Regions from separate parts of the Homo sapiens genome. Here all the other regions are linked to region 1. The links are contacts of gene promoters, found by promoter capture Hi-C in blood cells and fetal thymus (Javierre and others, 2016). All regions are on one chromosome and are shown on one strand. Each heading gives the region's core, a stretch centred on a gene start or on the middle of the fragment in contact. The rest is flanking DNA. Distances are from core to core; before and after follow the strand shown. Region 1 holds the start of SNX18 (sorting nexin 18). Region 2 overlaps CDC20B (cell division cycle 20B). Region 3 has its middle 9.3 kb from the start of GZMA.

Region 1 (4,760 bases), core at 869-3,368:
ACAGATTTGAGCAGCTCATTACTCAACTATTCAAACTCTAAAATGATAGCACTGTCATCAAAGGTACTCTTTGAACCTTCGAGAAAGAGTACTCATTCCCTAATGCAAGATACTCGAGGAGGAAGCTGCCTGTCGAGCAATCCAACTTACACTCTAGGGAAAAGACCCAGGCGTCCACGTCTCTGCTCGCTTCCTCACCTGTAGAATATGATTCTGAAACCCACAGTGGTACTGCTGTCAAAGTCGCCCCTTTCAGCCTGCACAATACACTCCATATCACCTGCTCTAAGGGCCAGGCTTTACCTTTCTGAACGTGGATGATGTCCGGGAAGTTAGCCAGATGCCCCTGATACAGCGCTAATAGGTCCATGACGGGATCCAGGTCCTGCCTGGGCTGCTCCGCGAAGAGCTCGCCAATGGCGTCATAGGCATCTCCGGTGAAGGCGATAGCCTGGTTCAGGCCCACCGAGAAGGCCTGCTGGTCCAGCTCAAAGGCCTGGCTGAGGCCGCGGAAGGACTGGCCCACCTTCTGATACTCCTTTTTGAAGCCGGTCACCTGCTTGCGCGCGAACTCGTTGGCCGTGTGGTTGAGCTGCAGCGCGCTGTCGTCCATCTTCTTGGTGAAGCACTTGAAGCCGTCGATCTTGCTCTCCACCTCCTGCAGGTCAAGGGCAGCGGCGGGGGGCGTGCTAAGGGTCAGGAAGAAGTTGGCGCCCACCATCTCGTCCTTCTCGGCCTTCCTCTTGCCCTGCTTCCAGGCTTTCTCGTCGGTGCTGCTGGGGCACGTCAGGAAGTGCTGGAAGACGTCGCACTGCGCCAGCACTGGGTGGCTGGCCATGTGGTTCATCCACCAGATCAGGCCCTTCCTGCGCTTAGAGATGAAGTCCTCCTCGAAGCGGCCGGTGGCCTGCTTCTCGGGCAGGTGGGGCACGGAGATGACCGGGAACTTCTCCGCCAGGCGCGCGTACAGCCAGTCGAAGTGCTTGTAGCGCCGATGCACCGGCACCTGCGTGTGCGTGGGCACCAGCTTGTAGGAGATGTAGCTCTTCATGCCCTTGAACTTGGTCTGCTTGGTGGGGTCGTCGATGGTGCACTGGAACGGGTAGGGGTTCTCCTGCCACTCGGGGCCATAGGGCCCCAGCACCACGCACAGCTTGTCCCCGTCCTTCACGAAGCCTGACGCCTCCCCCAGCACGAAGGCCTCCCCGCCGGACTTGACGAAGGTGGAGAAGCGATTGAGGTTGCGGCTCACGGTGGCCGAGCTCTTGGGCCCCGACGGGTGGTGCTGCGGGGGGACCGAGCCGCCGCGGGAACCCAGGGACAGGTCGGAGCGCGTGGACAGGCGGTAGCGGCCGGCTGCGCCCACACCCGCCGAAGACGAGCCGTCGAGGTCCGGGTATGCTCCGCTGCCCAGAGCGCCCGGCTCGTCCGCCACCGTGGAGCTGTCGTCCCACTCGTCGTCCCAGTCATCATCGCTGCCTTGGCTGGCCTGGTAGCCGCCGTAGAGCTGCTGAGGCGACGGCTGCAGGGCGCCCCCGCCGTACGGGAAGCCCGCGCCGGGCGGCTGGAAGGTGCTCGGAGGCGGCGCCTGCTGTGGCTGCAGCAGCGCCTGGAAGGCGTCAGGCGGCGGCTTGAAGGAGGCGGGGGGCGCGACAGGCAGGGGCTCGAAGCCCCCGGGGGGCACATTGGCGTAGCGGGCCGGGGCGCCCGGGCCGCCGTCTCCCGCCGGGCCAGGCTCGGGGGCGCGGATCACCTGCACATAGGAGGCCGGGAAGAGGCCGCGGTCGCCGCGGCTGTTGACCCCCTCGAGCCAGCCCTCGATGTCCTGCTCGCTGCACAGGCTCAGCACCTCGTGCTCTCGCAGCGAGATCTCTCCTGGGTTCTCCGACCTGAAGTCGTACAGCGCCCGGGCGCGCAGCGCCATGGTCCCGGCGCCCCGACTGGCGGTCCCGACTCCCGGCGTCCCGAGCCGAGGCCCACCTGAGGGGCCCGCGGTACTGCTCGAGCCCTGGCGCGCGGACTGGAGCCCCGAAGGCGGCAAACCCACGCTGCCCGGACCAGCCGGTCGCGCCCTCCGCGCGGCTCCGCTCGCAGCGCCTCCACTTCGCAGCGCCGACTGCCGCGCTGGGCCGCCGCAGCCGCCGCCGGTCGGGGGCGGGGCCCGCGGCCTCCCACGTCTCCAGCTGCGCTAATCCACGGCCGAGAGCCCCTTGCCAGGCGAGAGCAAGCGATGGCCGAGCCGCCGAGCCCACCGCCCGCGTCGGCTTTGCGGCGGCCACTGCCCTCTAGTGGCCGGTGCCGCGAAGCCGGGCGCCGTAGTGAGCGCGGCTGAAGGAGGTTTCTACTCCGAAGTGAATTATCTGAGATTTCTTTAGGCTTTTAAGTTAAACATTCTCTAGAAAGTAAGTTAGCATTTGCATGCCTGATAAACGTTCCCACTCTGAGCGCTCAGTGAATGCTCCTAGAATGGCAACCCAGTCATGTAATAAAGCATTTTGCAATGCGAATTAGTGATTGCACTAAGAAAACAGGATGCCTCTGCGGAGGAGCTGTTCACCTACAGAGCAGGCTCCCTTCCCTCTTCTGCTCAAGGAGAGGAGATTGGCAAGAACAAAGTAAGGGCCAGGGAAGGTGCTGTGATTGACAAAATTAGAAGCAAAGGATCATGTAGAGAGGGAGGAGCTGGAGAGTTTCCAGTACAATAAATGCTCACACATTTATTACATGCATGTGTCGCCTATCCTCCCATAGATATATGTAGTGCGGTGAATGAGAGCTCAAACTTCGGAGCCAGGCTTCTGAATTTCAATCTGTGTTCTGACACTACCTAGCTGTATGACCTGGAACAAGGCACTTATATCGTACCTACCTCCGGGGGTTGTTGTGGGGATTCCATCATAAAGTAATCCCTATTTTACAGATGAGGAAAGTGAAACAATATCTGGCAGGGTAAGCAGATTTGAAGGGTTTGTTGCTGCTTTTGCTGCTGTTACTGTTATTTGGGGGAAGCAAAATCCCTGGCCTCTTTCACAAAGGGAATAGGGGTACTAAACTAACAATTGCAGGGTACATGCACCAGGAAGCGTCCCAATGTTCACATTGCCACTCCTAGTAAGAGGTCAGTGACCATCCATCCATCTGTTGTCTCTATGTCTCACTATATTTATATTATTTTTAAGATAAATAGAACAAAAATCACTTCCTGAAATAATCAGCTCCAATCTATCGTTGCCTTGTTTCCTATCTTCCTTTCCTTCAGTGTATAATTTGCCCAAAGCTTTTTCTTCTCTTAATCCCCTCTTATTAAGTCTAGCCTAATTATTCCTTTGAAGACACTTCTAATTGAGGTTCTGCATTCATGTGTCATTAATTTCAGCCTGTCCTCTGACCCTTTTCAAGGAAACCTGGGAAACGGGCCAGAAGAGTGTACAATTATTCTAAGGGCTGTGGTATTGTAAGCATCTTGCACAAAAACACAAACCCACTATACCAGAATCACTCCCACAGTGTTTATCCTAATGCAAAACCTTAATTCAATTCAGTAAGCATATTCTAAATTACATTTTTAGCTGAAAATTCTGGGTTTTGACTATTCTCACAGTAAGCAACAGGGATCATTGAATTTCAATGCCAACATTTCATGTGGTCAGAAACATGAAGTCCACATTAACTAAACCTCTAGAATATGACTCATTTTACTTCTGAAAAGCTAACCTAGAATATGTAAGATAAATAAATTTAGTTTCGCCCCTTCTGTTCGTTTAGTAGTTACTTTTTAGATTAGAGTTAAGTACAGTAACTTTGGGCTTATTTCAGGTGTGAAAATTCCAGGAGTTTAAGGTGATGATTTTTTACAGACTGGTTGAGCTACTCTGTAGAAATGGTGGTTGAGGAATTATTGGGTGTCCAAGGTTGTTTGTAGCACTGGGGCATGGGCGTCTGCAGGTGCTTACTTTGTAGGAGTCCAGTGGGAGGCCTCTGTGCTTGCCGCGCATCAGGCTTCCAGAAGGATGAGGACAGGCTGTCATGATGTTTGGCCCTATGGCCACTAGTGGCAGGAAAACCCCTACCTCTAGAGGGTCTTAGATATGTAGAAAATTGTGCTCCAGTATTAACAACCTATAACTGTTCACTCAGGGAAATAGATACAGTAACACATTTTGTAAAGATTTCTCTAGAAAATGGAGCATATTATTCACAGTTTAGTTTACACAATCATTATAACCACCCATATGCTTCTGTAAAGTTTTTAGGGGACACTAAATGACCCCAAACAATTGCATTTTCTTACTTCCTCCCTTGGCCTGAGAGGCCTTAGATAGCCTGGCCCTTGGCTATCTTTCCAGCCCCCTTTTCCACTGAAAGAAGCCACAGTGGTTGCTTTGCTATTTTTGGGACAAGTCAAGCACGTTTCTTGCTGAAGTTTTTGCCTTCGCTTTTCTCTCTCCCTGGAGCCCTCTTCCCCGGGAGATCCACCATGCCACATCATCGCTTCATTCGGTCAGAACCATGGGGCTTTCCATCCCTCCTTTCTTCTCCTTCCTTGGAGATACCGGAAGACAGAGGGAGCCTGGGTCCCTGAGTCACCGACCCCAATCATACTTTGTGAGAGAAAAATCCTTTGTCCGACTAAGCCACTGAAATTTCAGAGATTGCTGAGGCAGCTGGTACTAATTATGCTAATATAATCTCCCTCCCTCCCTCCCATCCCCTGTCCATCCCACAGTCTCACTTTTCTTTGTAGCAACTATGACCTAAGA
Region 2 (4,760 bases), core at 995-3,494, 610 kb before region 1:
GAGGATCTCTTTCTTTTGGCTTTCCCATGTCTAGGACTTTTCCCTCATACTGGTATCAGTTCTATGCCTCAGGCTCTTTTCCATGGTTTCTCTGACCAGAAATATGGTGGCCTTTTTGTCAGAGTCTTCGCTGGCACTCCATCAATGGGGCCTGTCCTCAGGGCAAAGGTGTGAAAGAAGAAAAGTGGGAAACTTACCCCCCGCCAGTTTGCTTCTCCAAATTTTGACTCCCTTACTTAGTTTACTGCTTTTCCTTACTTTACAGGATCTCCAGGTGTTTGTTTTTTATATTTCATTCAGAGTTTATATTTATCATGGGGACGGAATGTATTGTAGGGGTTTAAACTACTGTAGGGGAACTGGTGTGCTACTTAGTTTTATACTGATACGTGTCAGTCAGGAGTTTCTGACTGATAAGAAATAAGATAGGGTATATTTTAATAAATGGTCATACAAATATGTTTTCTCTTAGCAGTCAAAGGTTTCTTATTAGTATAAGCTATAGAATACTGTTGAGAACGTGTAGGTATCATACATGAACCACCACCTCTTCTAGCTGGGTGGTGTTTTTGGTTAGAAATGATGGTGGCATCTCCCATATAGATATCCTAGGTCCAAGAGTGTCTCCATAAGAATTATATGCTTTTAACTTTTACTGATCCGTTAAACGAAGTCTACATGTACTAATAATGGTAGATGAATCTGCCAAGTTCTTTAAATGGCTCTAAATAAATATATTTCAGTGTAAATAATAAGCATTATTGCTTATTAGACTGTGAGTGTTGACACTAGATTCTATTCCACTTTTCATTTTTGAACTTTTAAGGATTTTCATGGTTCCATGTTTCCATTTTCCAGCTAACCATGGGGATGGTATTATTCTTTTCCCCCTACCTATAAAGTTGTTTATTTGAACATGTTTTCATGTGGCTGTATAATTATACTAATTTGAAGTGCTTTTCTTATAGATCTGAATATCCTAGATTGGAGTTTTCAGAATCTTGTTGCCATAGCCCTGGGCTCTGCTGTATACATCTGGAATGGGGAGAACCACAATGGGATTGAAAACATAGACTTAAGTCTCACTTGTAACTATATCTCTTCTGTGTCCTGGATAAAAGAGGGAACTTGCCTGGCAGTTGGCACCAGCGAGGGAGAAGTGCAAGTACTGGCCAGTTTTTTTTTTTCTCATCATGTTCTCTGTGTATTATTACACTATAATTGACTTTTAATAACAAGTTAATGTAAAATAGAGAAACTAGGTGTGGCTCTTGAAGTATGGGGAATAAAAGGAGATGACATTCCGCTTTTTTTTTTTTTTTTTTACTGAATGGTTTTTAATGAAAACGTAAGGATACTCTGGTTAGTTTCCACCACAATCTTTCTGTCATATTTAAAAATATATTTTCTCTGAAACTAAAGTTGGGCTTGTAGAATCTCCAGTTTTGGAGCTTTGGAGAGAGGAAGATACTTTCAGTTCTCCTTTTCACCTGAAGCCGTGATTAAGAGTACAGTTATAGAAAATGAGTGAATTTTTTTTTCTGATAGGCTCCTTGAGATGGGGATTTATCAAATTTCCATCAATCTATCTGATTTCTCATGTATCATTATTATTGTTTATTACCAATAGAATAAACAATATCACTCATGTGCAAATGACTTAGGAGGGCCACAGATGGCTCTCTCACTGCTTTCTCATCTCTGCAATGATAATGAATGCTGTGAAGTCTATGTCATGATTTCTTCTTACACCAAAGTTGTCATTCCCCATGTGGATCAGAATATTATCTGTAGCTCGCAGGAAGGGAGTCTCTTAGCAGTAAGTGGAATTACTGATTCTAGGAAGTGTCCGGGTACCCACATCTTATTAATACATTTGTTGGTAACTGTGGGTAGATTTCCAGATTTGGAATTCTCACAATTTAGAAGGAGCTAGAAATGTGGTAATAATTCTCAACCCTTGGCTGCACATTGAATTCACCTGGGGAGCTTTAAAACAACTGCCATATATCCCCAGGCTCTACTCTACCAACTAAATCAGCATCCATAGTGTTATAGACTCCCCAGCTGATCCTAATACACAGTCAGAATTGAGAACTGCTGGCTAGATGTGCTGGGTTTTCACTTAGTACAAAAACTAACAATATCAGCAGTAATTGGCTCTCAGGCCTTTGAGAAGACAGTGGGCTGTGAAAACTCCAATGCTACATAACTCTCCTTGTTCATTTTTTCAGTTATGGGATGTGGTAACTAAAAAGCGGCTGAGAAATATGCTTGGTCATTTGTCAGTAGTTGGGGCTCTGAGCTGGAATCACTTTATCCTCAGCAGGTAAGAAGCGTCTTGTTGGAGACAGTTATGTTTGTATTAACAATTGATTATGGGGCCTGAGTAAACAGTTGTAATATTCAAAACCTAAACCAATCAAAAATAAAACAAAATAGGCCATTGGACTTAATATCAGGTATGATCCCACCCTCTCAGGTATTCAGATCTGCTGGTCATGTAAGTGTCTTGGTGGCCACATGTATCATGTGTGCCTTCTGCATGGGATGCACTAAATTGTTCAGATAAAATGTGAAAATCCCTTCAAGCAAAAGGTTTCTCTGTGCTAAGTAATAGGTACTAAAGGGATATTTTGCTGAAATCAAGTATTTATTGCTGTCAGTATCTATACTATGGAATATGTTAAGCTCTCTGGGACACATTTCCAATTCATAGACCCACAGAAATTAGAGCAGAAGGAACCTCATAGATTATCCTGTTCAGTAGTTCTCAAACTAGAACATGTATCAGAATCACCTGGAGAGCTCCTCAAAATGCAGATTGCTGGCTTCACTTGAGGGACTTCAGATTCATTAGGTCTTGAGGGGCTGATAATTGGCATTTCTCATTTCCCAAGTGATGCTGATGATACATCCCTTTGAGAACTAGTGATTTAGTTTAACTGCTTCTTTTTAACCAGAAAAATTAAGGGACTTTTTCCTATGAGCCTACATAACTGGTCTAAATATATATTGCTTTTAATCATAGCCATTCATTTTCATATTGTAGTTCTTAAGGTTAAGGTAGACTTAAGTTAGATAAATCCCAAAGACTGTTTTTTTTTTTTTTTTTTTTTGACATGGAATCTCACTCTGTCACCTAGGCTGGAGTTCAGTGGCGTGATCTCAGCTCACTGCAACCTCCACCTCCCGAGTAGCTGGGACTACAGGCGCCCACCACCATGCCTGGGTAATTTTTGTATTTTTAGTAGAGATGGGGTTTCACTATGGTGGCCAGGATGGTCTTGAACTCCTGACCTTGTGATCCACCTGCCTCGGCCTGCCAAAGTGCTGGGATTACAGGTGTGAGCCACCGCGCCTGGCCATCCCAAAGACTTTTAAAATGTATTTAAGTAATCTGATGTAAACTTGAGACTTGAATATCTTGTGTTTTTGGCCGGTCTTAAAACAACTTAGTTATTGCAGTCAATTATGTACTCAAGCTCCTTTTCTAATCTGCATTGTTAAAATTTAGTTTCATTATCCACGAGGAAAATGAGCAGATCCTTTCTTATAATAATAGCAGCTAACATTTTCAGACTACTCTGTGCCAGGCACTGTGCTATACTTTTTATGTGTGTAATTTCATTTTAATCACTGCAGTAACATGATAAGGTGGTCTCTTATCCTCAATTTTGTTTTTTCAAATTAAACTAAGACACTAGCCTGAAGTCACATGGTTAGTAAGTGATGGAGTTGGAATAACCCAGCTGGTCTGGCTCCAGAGCCCATATTGTTAATCACAATGCTGTTCAGCATTGCATAGTTTTAAACAATGCGACACTGGACTTTGAGAAATGTCTGAAATAATTGTGGAACATCATTTACTTACTCCTTAGAGAAAATTAAATTAATCCAGAAAGCGTTCATTATCTTTGAAAAAGTGATGTGATCTTTAGTTGTTTAGATTCACATCACTGAGCATGAATGGAGACATTATCCACTGCTTAGGAATCATATTGCAGTTTGCTGTGACATTCAATTGGTTTTAAACTTCTTTTACAAAGAAGTTTAGTTCTTTAGCAAAACTAAGAATGGATCTATAGGTTAATAGGACTCTACCTGTTAGATATTTATTTCCTTTTTCTATGTCTAACATTTTACTGTAAATATATACTGAAACCATTTTGTTGAGATAATCTGAAATATTCAAAGTTGCAGAAAAGTGTTAATATTTCCTAGGTCCTGTATATAAACTAGTCTTTGGGAAAATCTGGTAATCTTCTCAGCTTATTTTTCCATCGCTGCTTACATCAGATTAAAGTCATTAGAAACATCTATCAAAGGATATTTTTAAATCTAGACTTCAAACTCTGCCAGACAAATCAATTTCACTTGTGAAAAGAATCCTCCAGGCAGAACACTCCATCCTTATTAACCCAAGGAATCTCCACCTGTGTTTTGAATCTGTCCTAGGGGTCTTTCAGAAGTTTTACTTTGAACTATGCTTTCCTCCATGTTTTCAAATGTTTATGTAGCAACAGGGCTTAATTTTTTTGTTATGTAAACTCGCAGTGGGTCAAGACTGGGGCGTGTTTATCATCACGATGTTCGGGTAGCCCAGCATCATGTTGGAACACTTCGCCACAAGCAAGCTGTGTGTGCTCTGAAGTGGTCACCGGATGGCAGGCTGCTTTCCAGCGGCTGCAGTGATGGACTGCTGACAATATGGCCCCACGATCCAGGTGCCAGTGCACAGGGCCAACCGCTGAAAGTCA
Region 3 (4,760 bases), core at 646-3,145, 580 kb before region 1:
GCCACCTTGATTTCTATTTTTCCACAAAGTCAAGGCAGGGAGAGTATGGAGTATGATTCAGGTTGAGTAGAGGGTAGAGGGAGGTGATTCTAGTTCTTTTATTTTTTCTTGCCTTAAGCTGAGTTTGAAATTGCAGGGGCTTCTGGTATTGTGGAACTGCTAAAAACACAACGGCACCACAGCAATGGTCACATTCCTATGATTGCATTGCTTTCAGGCGATGCTTCCTGACATTAGAGTGTCCCCACTTCCTCGGTGCTCCTTCTGATTACTGAAGCTCCTGCCCCCCACCTTGCTAACATTGTGAGGTGAAATGGCCACAGATGAGAGCCTTTCTATAGAACAGGACTTGAAATGTGCATGTGCAACTTTCCGACTTCTCACCCACTCATGCTTCCTCACAGCCTGCATGCTTGCTATCTGAGGACAAGGAGGAGGGAGACTTCAAAAGGGACTTTGGGGCTTAATGAGTGTATCAGAGTCTGGGAAGCACATGTTTGTAAGGAGCAGTCCCCATTCAAGCTCTCTTATGGTCAACTGCATAGGACTACCATGGCCGCACAATTAGGTTTTAGCCCTGGAGAGTTAACTATCCCTGGTCAAGTCTTGACACCTTCTTTGTGGATTCCCTCGCAGCATCACACTATTGGCCATAGTGTCATAGGTGGGAAGGAGTTTCCCAGCTCTAACAGCATGGGCCCCTCACCTCCTGTACCCACCTCATTCCTTTCTAAAGGTAAGATTTTCAGGTCCTGAAGGAGACCTGACTTCTACCACTTGCTTGAAACCAGAGTCTAGAATCCCTTCTCTGCTTTTGATTACATTTGCCACTGTCTGGCTTAATTCCATCTCTTATTCAAAATTATTCAAGAAATATTTATCGAGGGCCTAATTATGTATCACATACTGTTGTTCTAGGTATTGGAGGTCATAGAAGTAAGTAGACAAAAGTATCTCTTATGTGGAGCTTAGGTTCCAGTGAGGGAGGCAGGCAGACATACACCATCTAAAGTATATCAGGGTGTGTTAGATGCCATGGAGGAAAATGTAGCAGGGGAGTGGGCCAAGGAGTGCCCTCTGAGGGGCAGGGAAGGGAGTGTCCTTCAGGGCCTAGGATGCCCTGTTGGAATCAGGCTGTAAGTGGTGGGGGGCAAGGAGTATGGAGGTTTTGCCAGAAGTGCACAGAACCCTAAAGGCCTTTCTTTATTCCCAATGATGGGAGTGGGCCAACCCCTGGGCTTTCTCTCTGTCTCTCTTTTTTCTTTTTTTGAATTAGGGCCTCACTCTGTCATCTAGGCTGAAGAGTTATGGTGTGATCACAGCTCATCCAGGATGCAGTACAGTGGAACCATCACAGCTCACTGCAGCCTCCAACTCCTGGGCTCCAGCAATCGTCCTACCTCAGCCTCATGAGAAGCTGGGACTAAAGGCATGCACCACCATGCCTGGCTAATTTTTAAATTTTTTTGTAGAGATGGGAGTCTCACTATGTTGCTCAGGCTGATCTGAGCTCGTAGGCTTAAGTGATCCTCCTGCCTTGTCCTCCCAAAGTGCTGGGATTATAGGCATGAGCTACCATGCCAGAATGTCAGGCTTCCTCCTAACTCCTGCTGGTGACCATCATCATCAGCCCTTTAGGGCTAGTGTGAACTGTTTACACTCTTTCTTCCAGACCTGTTTTGCCCTACTCCACTTTCAGCATGGCAGCCAGAATGATCATTTAACAACAAGGGTGATAATGTTGCAACCCTACTCAAAACACTTTACCATTTCCTTCCCCATAAAGCTCAAGCTTCTTACCAAGGTTTGCAAGGCCTGGCTTTGTGGTCTGTGTCCTGCCTACCCCTCTTTCTCAAATCTTGTGTTAACTCCCTTTTCTCCCCAATTCCTCCAAATGCATTGTCCAGAAAGACACCTCCAGTACATACTCTTCTTCCTGCTGGTAAGGACCCTCCCTCCCTTCCTCCTGGCTGACTCTGTCCTTCTCCAGGAAGCTTCCCCATGTACTCAAGATAGAGCCCTCTTCTTAGTTATCTCTGTAACTGATGGACAAAATACCATTAGATCAGAGCTGGAGATTTATTTGTCTGGGAGCAAGTCCTGATTTCTGGCAGGCTGGCACTAACAGCTAAGCATTCAAATTTTCTGGCTACTCATAAACACTCTCATGGAACATCAGTGTCAGACCAGGTGATTCTAATAAAGTGAGAAAAAAACAAGTCCTCTCTGGCATCATGTTTGAGTCTTTCCATTCTTTCTGTCTCCTAGATAATTAAGGTTTATTAAGAGACTGAATCACAGAATTATTCCACTTGCTGACAACACCCAATTCACAGCAAACTCATTCTTCCTTGAATCCTACCCCAAACTGCCCAACACAAGCTCCAAGCTTGTGAAAAGCCCCAACCAACACCCTCTTACTGAGCCAGCCCATGGTTTCACATAGTGAGCAGTCTCCCTTGCTAAGCCAGCATCAATGAACATAAATTTGTTTGACTTCAGGTGAATTCCCAGTGGTCTTGGATTTACGGGCATCACCACTGTAGATTGCCAAGAGGGACTTTTGTGAACAGCTGTTGACGAACTGAATTCACAAGGGGGAAGGGACATCTGTGGTAGCAGTACTGGGCCTGGCTGTACTTCCTACCCCCAGACTTGAGGCATTAGCCCACTCTGTGCATTAGCACAAGTGCATGTGTGTGTGTGTGTGTGTGCGCGCGCGTGTGTGTATGTCTGTGTGTGTGTATGTGTGTATGTAGAACCTACTTTAAGATTACACTATAAAATCAAGGTTGATTTCTTCATTCCAACATTTAAAAGCTTGACTCTGGCCAACTTTTCTCATCCTTGGAGACTTCAGCAAGGCACACTGTTTCCCAAAGCATGGGAAAGTAAACCTGCTACTTCTGCAGGTTTACTTATATATAGACAAAAATTACATAGGAAAAGTTTCAGGTTGCACTGACCTTTTACTATTTCAAAATAGTTATCAAACCCCCCCCACATATTTATCTGAAGGAGTTAAAGATACCATATGAATGGCTGTGGATCATAGCATGGATAGGAAATCGCCTTTTTAATGGAAACTTTCTGGTCAAGTTTCTGTTTATGGGATGTAGAGTGGGCCCCAAGAATAATTTGAAGTTTGCCCCTCTTGGAAAGAAACACCACCTAACTTATGTAAGAGAATGGATGAAACTAAACTATTGGCTTAATTTACTCAAGTCTGGTCAGTGTTTTCAAATGCCTTCTGATTTATAAACAAGCACTGCAAGACAGAAGGAACTTAGGGAGCTTTTTTTTCCCTCTGGTGTTTTAGCACCTGTTACCCTAAATTCCCAAGATGTGTGTTATGATACATTGCTTCAACTTCACCACATCTTTTCAAGGAAGAAGCAACGGAAAGGGAGTCCCAGGTGTTTTGGCAGAGGCAAGAGCACTGACTTGTAAAGGCCTGGAGAGATCTGCTTGGGACCTGGAGTCGGGGCTTCCCTTGGGCCAGTGGTAGCTGGGGCTGCCTGGGTAGAGGAGCTGGGCTCTGCCATTCACCTGCTGAAAGGGGAGCTGCCAATTTCTTCACTTCCTTTGGATTTGTGGAGTAAAGCCCATTCCCTAGTGGCCTTCTCGGTTGTTGATACCTAATGGAAGAGACCAAACCTGAGAACTAGAGAAGTAGCAGGTATACTTTCCCATGCTTCTGGGAAACAGTCTGCCTTGCTGAAGTCTCCAAAGATGAGAAAAGTTGACCACAGTTAAGCTTTTAAAAGTTGAAATGAAGAAATAAACCTTGGTTTTATAGTGTAATCTTAAAGCCAGTTCTACATACACACATACACACGCACACACATACACACTCACGCTCATGCACGTGCAAACAAATGAACTAGGGCTAAACCTGAATCTAGTTTATGCACCTTATGTAGCTATTCTAGGAGAAGAGGGCAAAATATTTTCTGATTTGTTGGGCAGACTGCATTGAGCTGTTCCATTAATTAATCATCCCGGTGTCTAGCTTTATTTTCACTGCAAATTGTGCTGAAGTTCTTATTTGACAAATTCTTACTTCATATAACAGTATAATGTAAATATGTTCAAATATTTGTGAGAAGCTAGTTTTTAAGCCTGTTCTTTTGTTCATGCAATCTGTGTTAAAGTGAATACGGAAATAATAGGTACTGGTTGCTAACAACAGGTACTGATTAAGAAAACAGCAGCATATCCATGTGATAAACATTATTCTGCCTTTTGAATAATAACTAGGAAAACCACTAGTTTGAACCATGAGAAATTGCTATTTTTAAAGTGAAATAGTAGTAATTTCCTATGGATCAACCGAATATGTAATAATGAGACTTCCTGGGTTGAGTGGGGACTTCGAGAACTTTTCTGTCTAGCTAGAGATATTGTAAATGCACCAATCAGTGCTCTGTGTCTACCTGAAAGATTGTAAATGCACCAATCCACGCTCTGTAAAAACGCACCAATCAGTGCTCTGTGTCTAGCTAAAGGTTTGTAAAAGCACCAATCAGCACTCTGTAAAATGGACCAATCAGCATTCTGTAAAATGGACCAATCAGCAGGATGTGGGAGGGGCCAAATAAGAGAATAAAAGCTGGCCACCCCAGCCCACAGCAGTAACCCACTCGTGTCCCCTTCCATGATGTGGAAGCTTTGTTCTTTTGCTCTTCACAATAAATCTTGCTGCTGCTCACTCTTCGGGTCTGCACTACCTTTATGAGCTGTGGCACTCACTGTGAAGG

What was found. The method cuts DNA at HindIII sites, captures the fragments that hold promoters and counts their contacts. A CHiCAGO score of 5 or more calls a contact.
Region 2: a fragment that was not itself captured here is called in contact with the fragment with the promoter of SNX18 in region 1 in 6 of 17 cell types (naive B cells, fetal thymus, total CD4 T cells and 3 more); the score reaches 7.9 in naive B cells.
Region 3: a contact is called between a fragment that was not itself captured here and the fragment with the promoter of SNX18 in region 1, in 1 of 17 cell types (fetal thymus). The highest score is 5.1, in fetal thymus.

Annotation. Positions count from the first base shown.
Region 1 is chr5:54,515,117-54,519,876 of GRCh38, reverse strand. SNX18 (sorting nexin 18) reads right to left here and starts at 2,118. Exons shown (of 2, transcript NM_001102575.2): 1 at 304-2,118. The coding sequence starts at 1,924. RefSeq lists an enhancer at 266-1,210 and silencers at 1,683-2,242, 2,123-2,364. The HindIII fragment of the contact is 5,643 bases long and covers 1-3,279 here.
Region 2 is chr5:55,124,826-55,129,585 of GRCh38, reverse strand. CDC20B (cell division cycle 20B) reads left to right here. Exons shown (of 12, transcript NM_001170402.1): 7 at 969-1,165; 8 at 2,235-2,329; 9 at 4,558-4,760. Among named protein-coding and RNA genes, the nearest start is that of GZMA, 25 kb to the right of the region's middle. The HindIII fragment of the contact is 5,522 bases long and covers 1-4,760 here.
Region 3 is chr5:55,090,983-55,095,742 of GRCh38, reverse strand. It overlaps the pseudogene GZMAP1. Among named protein-coding and RNA genes, the nearest start is that of GZMA, 9.3 kb to the left of the region's middle. The HindIII fragment of the contact is 202 bases long and covers 1,795-1,996 here.